2 separate regions of the Homo sapiens genome follow, and region 1 is linked to region 2. Evidence: promoter capture Hi-C in human tissues and cell types (Jung and others, 2019). All regions are on one chromosome and are shown on one strand. Each heading gives the region's core, a stretch centred on a gene start or on the middle of the fragment in contact. The rest is flanking DNA. Distances are from core to core; before and after follow the strand shown.

The links. Contacts are between HindIII fragments. The study calls those that stand out against the background at their distance.
Region 1: a contact is called between a fragment that was not itself captured here and the fragment with the promoter of NPPB in region 2, in 1 of the 25 tissues and cell types used here (bladder).

What each region holds. Positions count from the first base shown.
Region 1 is chr1:11,721,265-11,725,855 of GRCh38, reverse strand. DRAXIN (dorsal inhibitory axon guidance protein) reads right to left here. Exons shown (of 7, transcript NM_198545.4): 7 at 1-4,591. Among named protein-coding and RNA genes, the nearest start is that of AGTRAP, 13 kb to the left of the region's middle. The HindIII fragment of the contact is 8,805 bases long and covers 1-4,591 here.
Region 2 is chr1:11,857,045-11,861,489 of GRCh38, reverse strand. NPPB (natriuretic peptide B) reads left to right here and starts at 2,545. Exons shown (of 3, transcript NM_002521.3): 1 at 2,545-2,788; 2 at 3,021-3,276; 3 at 3,819-4,026. The coding sequence starts at 2,657. The coding sequence ends at 3,835. RefSeq lists a silencer at 1,980-2,146. The HindIII fragment of the contact is 5,805 bases long and covers 41-4,445 here.

The DNA.
Region 1 (4,591 bases), core at 626-3,125, 130 kb after region 2:
CTTTTTAACCATCGTCTCTTTATTTACAGCTCAAGAGCACATGCAACATGACATCATGAAACTACAAGGGCGTGGCACTTCCCCCTCCCCCTGCCGCTCCCCAACTTTAAAAAGGAAGTACAGCACCCTAGGAAGTTGCCTAAGAGTCAGAAAACCCTACACTGAGGGTCCCAGGCCGAGGTGCTCCATTCATTGCCTCCAAAAATAAAGACCAGTTGCAGCCCAGGAGGCTTGGGCCTCAGAGCCTGGGAGTTTGTCATTGCTGGTAATTAGCTACGCAAAACAGGTCTCGGATTTGCCAGCTCACACCTGAATACAAATAGCCCGAATTATCCGAATGTCCCTGACCACCCCACATTTCTGTTTTCCCCGTCGTATCCTAGACCTGTGATTCTCAAATTTGATCGTGCCCAAGAATGACCTGGAGAACTTGTGAAAAGCCAAATGGCTGGGCCCCACCCCCAGAGATTCTGGCTCAGTAGGCGTGGGGTGGTGGGGCCCAAGAATCTACATTTCTTTTTGTTTTTTTTGTCTTTTTTTGAGACAAGGTCTCGCTGTATTGCCTAAGCTGGAGTGCAGTGGTGCGATCATGGCTCACTGCAGCCTCAACCTCTTGGGCTCAAGCGATCCTCCCACCTCAGCCTGGAGAATAGCTGGGACTACAGGTGTGCACCACCATGCCCGGCTAATTTTGTTATTTTTTGCAGAGATGAGGTCTCCCTATGTTGCCTAGGCTAAGATTCTGCATTTCTACCAAGCTCCCAGGTGCTGTTACTGGCCCGGGACCGTAATCTTGAGTGTCTAAGGTCTAGAAAGCCTCTTGCACCCAGAAGTGACCCAGCCATGGATCCTGTATCAGACTGCTTGTTCTGACTTAGAATTCAGAAAATACACTCCCTGCAATATAAACCCCTGGTTCTGCAAACTGCCCTTCCCAGGAAAGGCAACCGTCCCTGCTAACCTCCTCCCCAGGAAACACACACAGTCACCATTGCCTGTCAGAGTGAAGACTATCACAGAGGTGACAGGGCTCAGTCCAACCCCGTGAAACCCCCAGTGAGGAGCCACAGTGGTTTGCTTCTCTGGCCTCTCCACTGTCTCTCCTAGCACCATTTTCCTGGCTGTTCTGTTGTTTTATAAACCGGTTCCTTGCAGGTTTCAGGTATGCTGTCTCTCCAGCTGCAGAGTGAGCCCCACGGCAGGGGCCGTGTGCCCACCACCTCAATGTTAGGTTTTGTTGGGTGGGTTGAATATGGCTTGAAATAAGGACCCACCTCCAGCAGCTCAGTGGTAGAAGGGGTTGTGGCTTTAGGATTTACTTTGTGGCTTGGTCACTCCTCAAGGGGCTGTGAAGCTGTCATTTTCCCACAAGCCTTGGCCCTCATGTCATTGCATGCTCAGCCTATTCCCAGCAGGCATGGAAACCACTCTTGGTGTCTCCAGACAAACTACGGAAAGGCAGCCCTGTGGGAACAGCAGGTATTCCTGGGATCCGCGGTGAGACTCCAGCTGGAGGAGTGCAGGAGGGTTCAGGCCACGGGCCCAGCAGCTACTGGTTGCCACCTGGCCTCCTGCTCAGCTCCCCCACTCCACCCAGGGTATCATTTTAGACTCCAGCACCCATTTTATTGCAAAGCCACTTACTCCTCCAGCCCTGCCTCGGTGCCTGGAATCTGCACATGCTGCCAAGGGCTGAGGCCAGAACAGTTTTCCAAACCTCTCTGACCATGGAACCGTACCCTGACCCTTTCTAATAGAGCATCTCATGGTCCCAGTGTTCTATGGAACACACTTTGGGGAAGGAGCTTGAATGGTGACTTAGAAATGATCTCAGAGTATGTGATGGGTCATTGTCAAAGAACCGACATCTAAAATTCTCCTAGAATAACAAATTAGCTAACACTGGAGGTTTATTAGGTGCTAGGCACTGTTCTAAACACCTTATAAGAATTCTGCGTTCACAGGCCAGGCATGCTGGCTCATGCCTGTAATCCCAGCACTTTGGGAGGCTGAGACGGGGGGATCACCTGAGGTCAGGAGTTTGAGACCAGCCTGGCCAACATGGTGAAACCCCATCTCTACTAAAAATACAAACAGTAACCGGGCGTGGTGATGCTTGCCTATAATCCCAGGTACGCGAGAGGCTGAGGCGGGAGAATCACTTGTACCCAGGAGGCAGAGGTCGCAGTGAGCCGAGATCGTGCCACTGCACTCCAGCCTGGGCAACAAGAGTGAAACTCTGTCTCAAAAGAAAAAAAAAAAAAAAGAAGTATGCATTCACTACTCACAACAACCCTATGAAGGGAGAGTTATTATTCCCATTTTACAGATGAAAAAATCAAGGCACAGAGACCTTAAGAAACTTTCCTAAGGTTGCCAAAGCTGTGAGAGGTGGAATAGGTGGATTTAACACCAGCCACACTGCTACAGATGGAAGGGGAGAGCAGAGACTCTCCGCCCCAGCTGCACCTGAAGTTACCTGGGAGAAAAACTATGAAGCCCAGACCAAACAAAACAGAAGCTTTGTGGGTGGGCCCCAGGCCTGTGAATGTTCCTGGATTATTGCAACGTGCAGCCAGCGTTGAGAGTGAGCAGGCTTGAGCAGGGGTTGGCAAACCGTGACCCTCAGGCCAAATCTGCCCCACTGCCTGGTTTTGCGCAGTTGGCAAGCAAAGAGCAGTTTTTGCACTTTTAAATGGTTTTAGAAAATTAAACTAATAATATTTTATGGCCAGGTGCGGTGGCTCACACCTGTAATCCCAGCATTTTGGGAGGCTGAGGCGGGCGGATCACCTGAGGTCAGAAGTTTGAGACCAGCCTGGCCAACATGGTAAAACCTTATCTCTACTAAAAATACAAAAATTAACCAGGTGTGGTGGCACATGCCTGTAGTCACAGCTACTTGGGAGGCTGAGGCAGGAGAATTGCTTGAACCTGGGATGAAGAGGTTGCAGTGAGCTGAGACTGAGCCACTGCATTCCAGCCTGGGCAGCAGAGCAAAACTCCATCTCCAAAAAAAAAAAAAAGGAAAGAGAGAATAATATTTTGTGACATGTGAAAAGTATACAGAATTCACATGTGTGTCCAGAAATAGTTTTCCTGGAGCATAGCCATGAATTCATTTACACACTCTCTGTGGCTGCTTCGAGCTACGGCAGAGCTGAGTAGCTGGTGGAGATCAGATGGCTTGCAAATCCTAAAATGTTTATTTGGCTCCTCACAGTAAAAGTTTGCTAAACCCTGGATTAGAGGAAACTGGCTTCTGTATGAGCAAAATAAATTTAAGATAGACCTAAGGAAGAACTTCCTGGCAGAGAGGTTGGTTAGACACTTGAGAGGGCTTTGGGATTCCCAGCTCTGGAGTTAAGAGGTTCCATCCACCCATCCCTCTTTGGAAATGTCAAATAGAGATAGCTAGGGCAAAGAGACGGGCCTTGAATTTCCAACCATGGAACTACCCTGGCAACCAGTGGCAGTTCTATGGGCATTTTAGCTTTGTCCTGACCCTCTGTGTTCTCCATGGCTGATGTCCTAGGACCATCTAACAGCTGTCCCCCAGCCATAGTAATGCTGGGCTTTCTTCCGGCGGTACTCCTTAGGGTTCTAGCCCCACAGAGCCAGCACAGTCCCGAGTCACCACTTAATGTGAGGCACACACAGCATGTGTGGGTTGTCTGGTCTCAAGTACGAAGCTGCTGGCAGATCTGCCTTTTTACATTTTTAAGTGTTTTATATTTTTGGAGTCTCACTCTGTCGCCCAGGCTGGAGTGCAATGGCGTGATCTTGGCTCACCGCAACCTCCGCCTCCTGGGTTCAAGTGATTCTCCCGCCTGAGCCTCCTGAGTAGCTGGGATTACAGGCACCTGCCACCATGCCTGGCTAATTTTTGTATTTTTAGTAGAGATGGGGTTTCACCATGTTGGTCAGGCTGTTCTCGAACGCCTTACTTCAAGTGATCTGCCTACCTCGGCCTCCCAGAGTGCTGGGATGTCAGACATGAGCCCTCGTGCCCAGCCTTAATTTTTGTATATTTGGTAGAGACCGGGTTTTGCCATGTTGGCCAGGCTGGTCTCAAACTCCTGACCTGAGGTGGTCCGCCCACCTCAGCCTCCCAAAGTGCTGGGATTACAGGCATGAGCCATTGTGTCTAGCCATATCTGCCTTTCAGCTAGCCTGCTTTGATCTCCCAGTTCCCCTGCCCTCCCTGCTCCCTCCCCACAAGGTTCCCATGCCCATCAAACTTGGATAGGGAGAGAACAAGCATATTTAATTTCTTCTAGATCTGCCTGCTTTCCTTGGTGCCTGACCCCTGACCCCGACTGATTTTTCCAACGCAGTAAACATCTCTGGCATCTTATGGGCGTGATCCAGGCCAGTGAGGAATTTGGCCAGGAAAGTCTTTTGTCATTTGCAACCTGGTTCGCCCTGGAACAGAGGGTTGGCCAGGAGTGAGATGCCAAGTGGGGGGATTTAAATGGTTCTCCTGAAGTGACCCCTGAAGCCAGATCTGCTGGGACAGATGTCCTGGGTGGGCATTGTGAGTCTGGCCTGTTAGGGGCAGTTAGCTTCAGATAGCACCTCAATTTCAGGT
Region 2 (4,445 bases), core at 1,296-3,795:
GTGTCTAGTTCTGTGTCTTCCTCAAGTCTTCTTCCACAGTCCCCTCCACTGGGGACAGATAGAAACTCTGTCAGAGTGTATGACACTTAGACACTTAATTGTCTCACTTGGGGTCACTTTGTCTCCCCAGTGAGATCACAATCTCCTTCAGTGTAAAGACCAACTCTCATGTACTACTAATTATTTGGCCCTTTATACAGTGCCACGGGCTTTTGCAGATATTATTTTTTTCCTTTTAGTCCTTGCAAGGACTGTCCATTTTGCCGAAGAGCAAAGTGAGGCTCTGGCGAGATGCAGAGTCAGTTTTTGATGGTGCTGGTTGATGAATCCTGCCTTGCTCTGAACCCTTTATCTCATGGTACTCAGCATGAGGGGCTTTCTGCACCCTCAGCAGCCTCTCGCCCACTGACTCCCCTCTGCACTTGGCTGAATTTTCTTACCTCTTTAGCTTCCTCTTAGCCTTTTGATACTCTTACTGTGGCATGCTCATGTGCACGCACACACACACACACACACACACACACACACACAAAACTACCCCAGCCCCCCAGAACATTTCCAGCACTGGTGTCTTTACACAGCCCTTACCCACCCACCTCCATTTATATTTCATCTGCAAAATGCTCATCTGAGCCACTTCCCATTCTTTCTCCTGCACACACAGTCACCACTAGAATTGCACATCCCCCACAGCACAGCTCCCAGAGCCTTCATAGATGACACGGGATTCACCTAAGCTTGCTTTTTGTAGAAACACCTTGTGATCACCCTGGCAGTGATTATGAGCTTCAGGTCTGGAATCAGACTGCTGGCTAGACTAATCAGACTGGTTAGAATCCAGGATTTATCATGTGTCAATTGTGTGACTTTTGGAAAGTAGATTAATTCATGAACACCATTTCCTCCTCTGAAGTGAGGAATAATAACCGTGCTTTTCTCACCTCAGGGGCAGATGCTATTTTTTAGGCAAGATCTGCTTAGAGGTCCCAGTTTCTTATTGCTGCCCTTCTCTGCTGTAACTCTTCTCCCCTCATAGACAGCTCCACTCCTCCAGCCTGCTGCTTGTTGACACCAATTCTCTGGAAGGGGAGTGACATCAGTCATATATGCTTTAGGGGGGTATTTAAGCTGCTATGACTCTTCTCAGGGGCATTTCTCTCCAAAGTCTCACTTCTAATCACCAGGCCACCTGCTAATGATAATTAGATCATGGGTGGTCAGATGAAGGAGGCACTGGGAGAGGGGAAATCCCCATATCTCTGGTATCCCAGCAAATAGATAACCATCATTCCAGCCATCCTTTTGTTTTCTTTCTTTCTTTCTTTCTTTCTTTCCTTCTTTCTTTCTTTCTTTTTTCGCTCTCTGTCAACCAGGCTGGAGTGCAGTGGCGTGATCTCAGCTCACTGCAACCTCCACCTCCTGGGTTCAAGTGATTCTCCTTCCTCAGCCTCCCGAGTAGCTGGGACTACAGGCGCCTGCCACCATGCCCAGCTAATTTTTGGTAATTTTAGTAGAGACGGGGTTTCACCGTGGTCTCGATCTCCTGACCTCGTGATCCGACCGCCTCGGCCTCTCAAAGTGCTGGGATTACAGGCGTGAACCACCATGCCCAGCCTATCCTTTTGTTTTCCATCCTGTGTTGGCTTGGTGGGGGAGAGGAGGTGTTGACACGTGGAGGACACACATATAAGGCATTCTTGGGTGACTTCGTCATCACTGGACCCTATCTCTCAAAATTCCAGCGAAATCTGCTCTTCCCTTTAAGGAGTGAAAGAAGGGTCAGCATTCCAGAAGTTCCTGGTCATACCCAGGCTTTTAATGAATTGCCACTGGGGAATCAGCATCCCGTTGCTGTAAGGACTATAAGATGGCGGATTGTGAGAGCATAGGGAAAGGTCTCGGAGGTCTCTTGTCCTTGCTCCACGCAGGTCTTTCTGGCCTGAAAATCCCGTTGAAGAGAGCAGCTCTTGAGAGTTTGCTCCAAGTTCCCTCGGGGTGATCAGCACCACGGACAGCGGCCAGGGCGCCCCCGAGGACCCGCAGGCAGGCAGGGTGCACAGCGGCGAGCAGGTGCTGCGCTACGTGCGGGCCAGGGAACTCGCGCGGGGAGGGGAGAGGCGCCGCGGGTGGCGGGGTCTTGGCCGGGGCTGTTTTCGCTGTGAGTCACCCCGTGCTCCCCGCGCTCACGTCGGTCCTCGGAAAGCCGGGGTCCTCCCTGCCTTTTCCAGCAACGGTGGGGTGGGGAGGCAGGAAGAAAGCGCCAACCTAGGACACCTGGACATTTGCAGGAAAGGAAGAAGCGGGAGACGGGGACTTGTCTGTGTCTCCAGCGCGTTCCTGCCCCCCGGCCCGACCCGGCCCATTTCTATACAAGGTCGGCTCTGCCCGGTCTCCACCTCCCACGTCGCAGGCGCGGAGGGGCTCATTCCCGGGCCCTGATCTCAGAGGCCCGGAATGTGGCTGATAAATCAGAGATAACCCTGCATGGCAGGGCAGGCCCGACACTCAGCTCCAGGATAAAAGGCCACGGTGTCCCGAGGAGCCAGGAGGAGCACCCCGCAGGCTGAGGGCAGGTGGGAAGCAAACCCGGACGCATCGCAGCAGCAGCAGCAGCAGCAGAAGCAGCAGCAGCAGCCTCCGCAGTCCCTCCAGAGACATGGATCCCCAGACAGCACCTTCCCGGGCGCTCCTGCTCCTGCTCTTCTTGCATCTGGCTTTCCTGGGAGGTCGTTCCCACCCGCTGGGCAGCCCCGGTTCAGCCTCGGACTTGGAAACGTCCGGGTTACAGGTGAGAGCGGAGGGCAGCTCAGGGGGATTGGACAGCAGCAATGAAAGGGTCCTCACCTGCTGTCCCAAGAGGCCCTCATCTTTCCTTTGGAATTAGTGATAAAGGAATCAGAAAATGGAGAGACTGGGTGCCCTGACCCTGTACCCAAGGCAGTCGGTTCACTTGGGTGCCATGAAGGGCTGGTGAGCCCAGGGGTGGGTCCCTGAGGCTTGGACGCCCCCATTCATTGCAGGAGCAGCGCAACCATTTGCAGGGCAAACTGTCGGAGCTGCAGGTGGAGCAGACATCCCTGGAGCCCCTCCAGGAGAGCCCCCGTCCCACAGGTGTCTGGAAGTCCCGGGAGGTAGCCACCGAGGGCATCCGTGGGCACCGCAAAATGGTCCTCTACACCCTGCGGGCACCACGAAGCCCCAAGATGGTGCAAGGGTCTGGCTGCTTTGGGAGGAAGATGGACCGGATCAGCTCCTCCAGTGGCCTGGGCTGCAAAGGTAAGCACCCCCTGCCACCCCGGCCGCCTTCCCCCATTCCAGTGTGTGACACTGTTAGAGTCACTTTGGGGTTTGTTGTCTCTGGGAACCACACTCTTTGAGAAAAGGTCACCTGGACATCGCTTCCTCTTGTTAACAGCCTTCAGGGCCAAGGGGTGCCTTTGTGGAATTAGTAAATGTGGGCTTATTTCATTACCATGCCCACAATACCTTCTCCCCACCTCCTACTTCTTATCAAAGGGGCAGAATCTCCTTTGGGGGTCTGTTTATCATTTGGCAGCCCCCCAGTGGTGCAGAAAGAGAACCAAACATTTCCTCCTGGTTTCCTCTAAACTGTCTATAGTCTCAAAGGCAGAGAGCAGGATCACCAGAGCAATGATAATCCCCAATTTACAGATGAGGAAACTGAGGCTCAGAGAGTTGCATTAAGCCTCAAACGTCTGATGACTAACAGGGTGGTGGGTGGCACACGATGAGGTAAGCTCAGCCCCTGCCTCCATCTCCCACCCTAACCATCATCACCCTCTCTCTTTCCCTGACAGTGCTGAGGCGGCATTAAGAGGAAGTCCTGGCTGCAGACACCTGCTTCTGATTCCACAAGGGGCTTTTTCCTCAACCCTGTGGCCGCCTTTGAAGTGACTCATTTTTTTAATGTATTTATGTATTTATTTGATTGTTTTATATAAGATGGTTTCTTACCTTTGAGCACAAAATTTCCACGGTGAAATAAAGTCAACATTATAAGCTTTATCTTTTGAAACTGATTTGTCTTGGCGCATTAAAAATAATCCCTCATTTCAAAGAAACCAACCCAACTAAAACCACAAAGCCCTGTGATCTCAAGGCATCTTCATGGTGGGATGAGGATGTGGCCTCAGAGGTAGCAGGCTTTCTTTTCTTTCAGAGTTTTTAATGCTCTGAAATGTTATTGAATATCTCAAGCACTTGAGGCACTTGGGAGAAACTGCTTTTCAAAGCAGGGCAGGATACGTGTGCAACCTGAGGGCACGTATCCAGCCGTTTTCTCCACTCGTCCTTGCTCTGCCTGGAATTCCACCATTAAAGCACTCTCCCTGGGGATTATTGCTTTCAGGTCTCAGCTAAAATGTCAACGACTGGGGGCAGTGTGTGTGGGTGTGGCTCATCTACATTCCCATACCGGGGTGAGC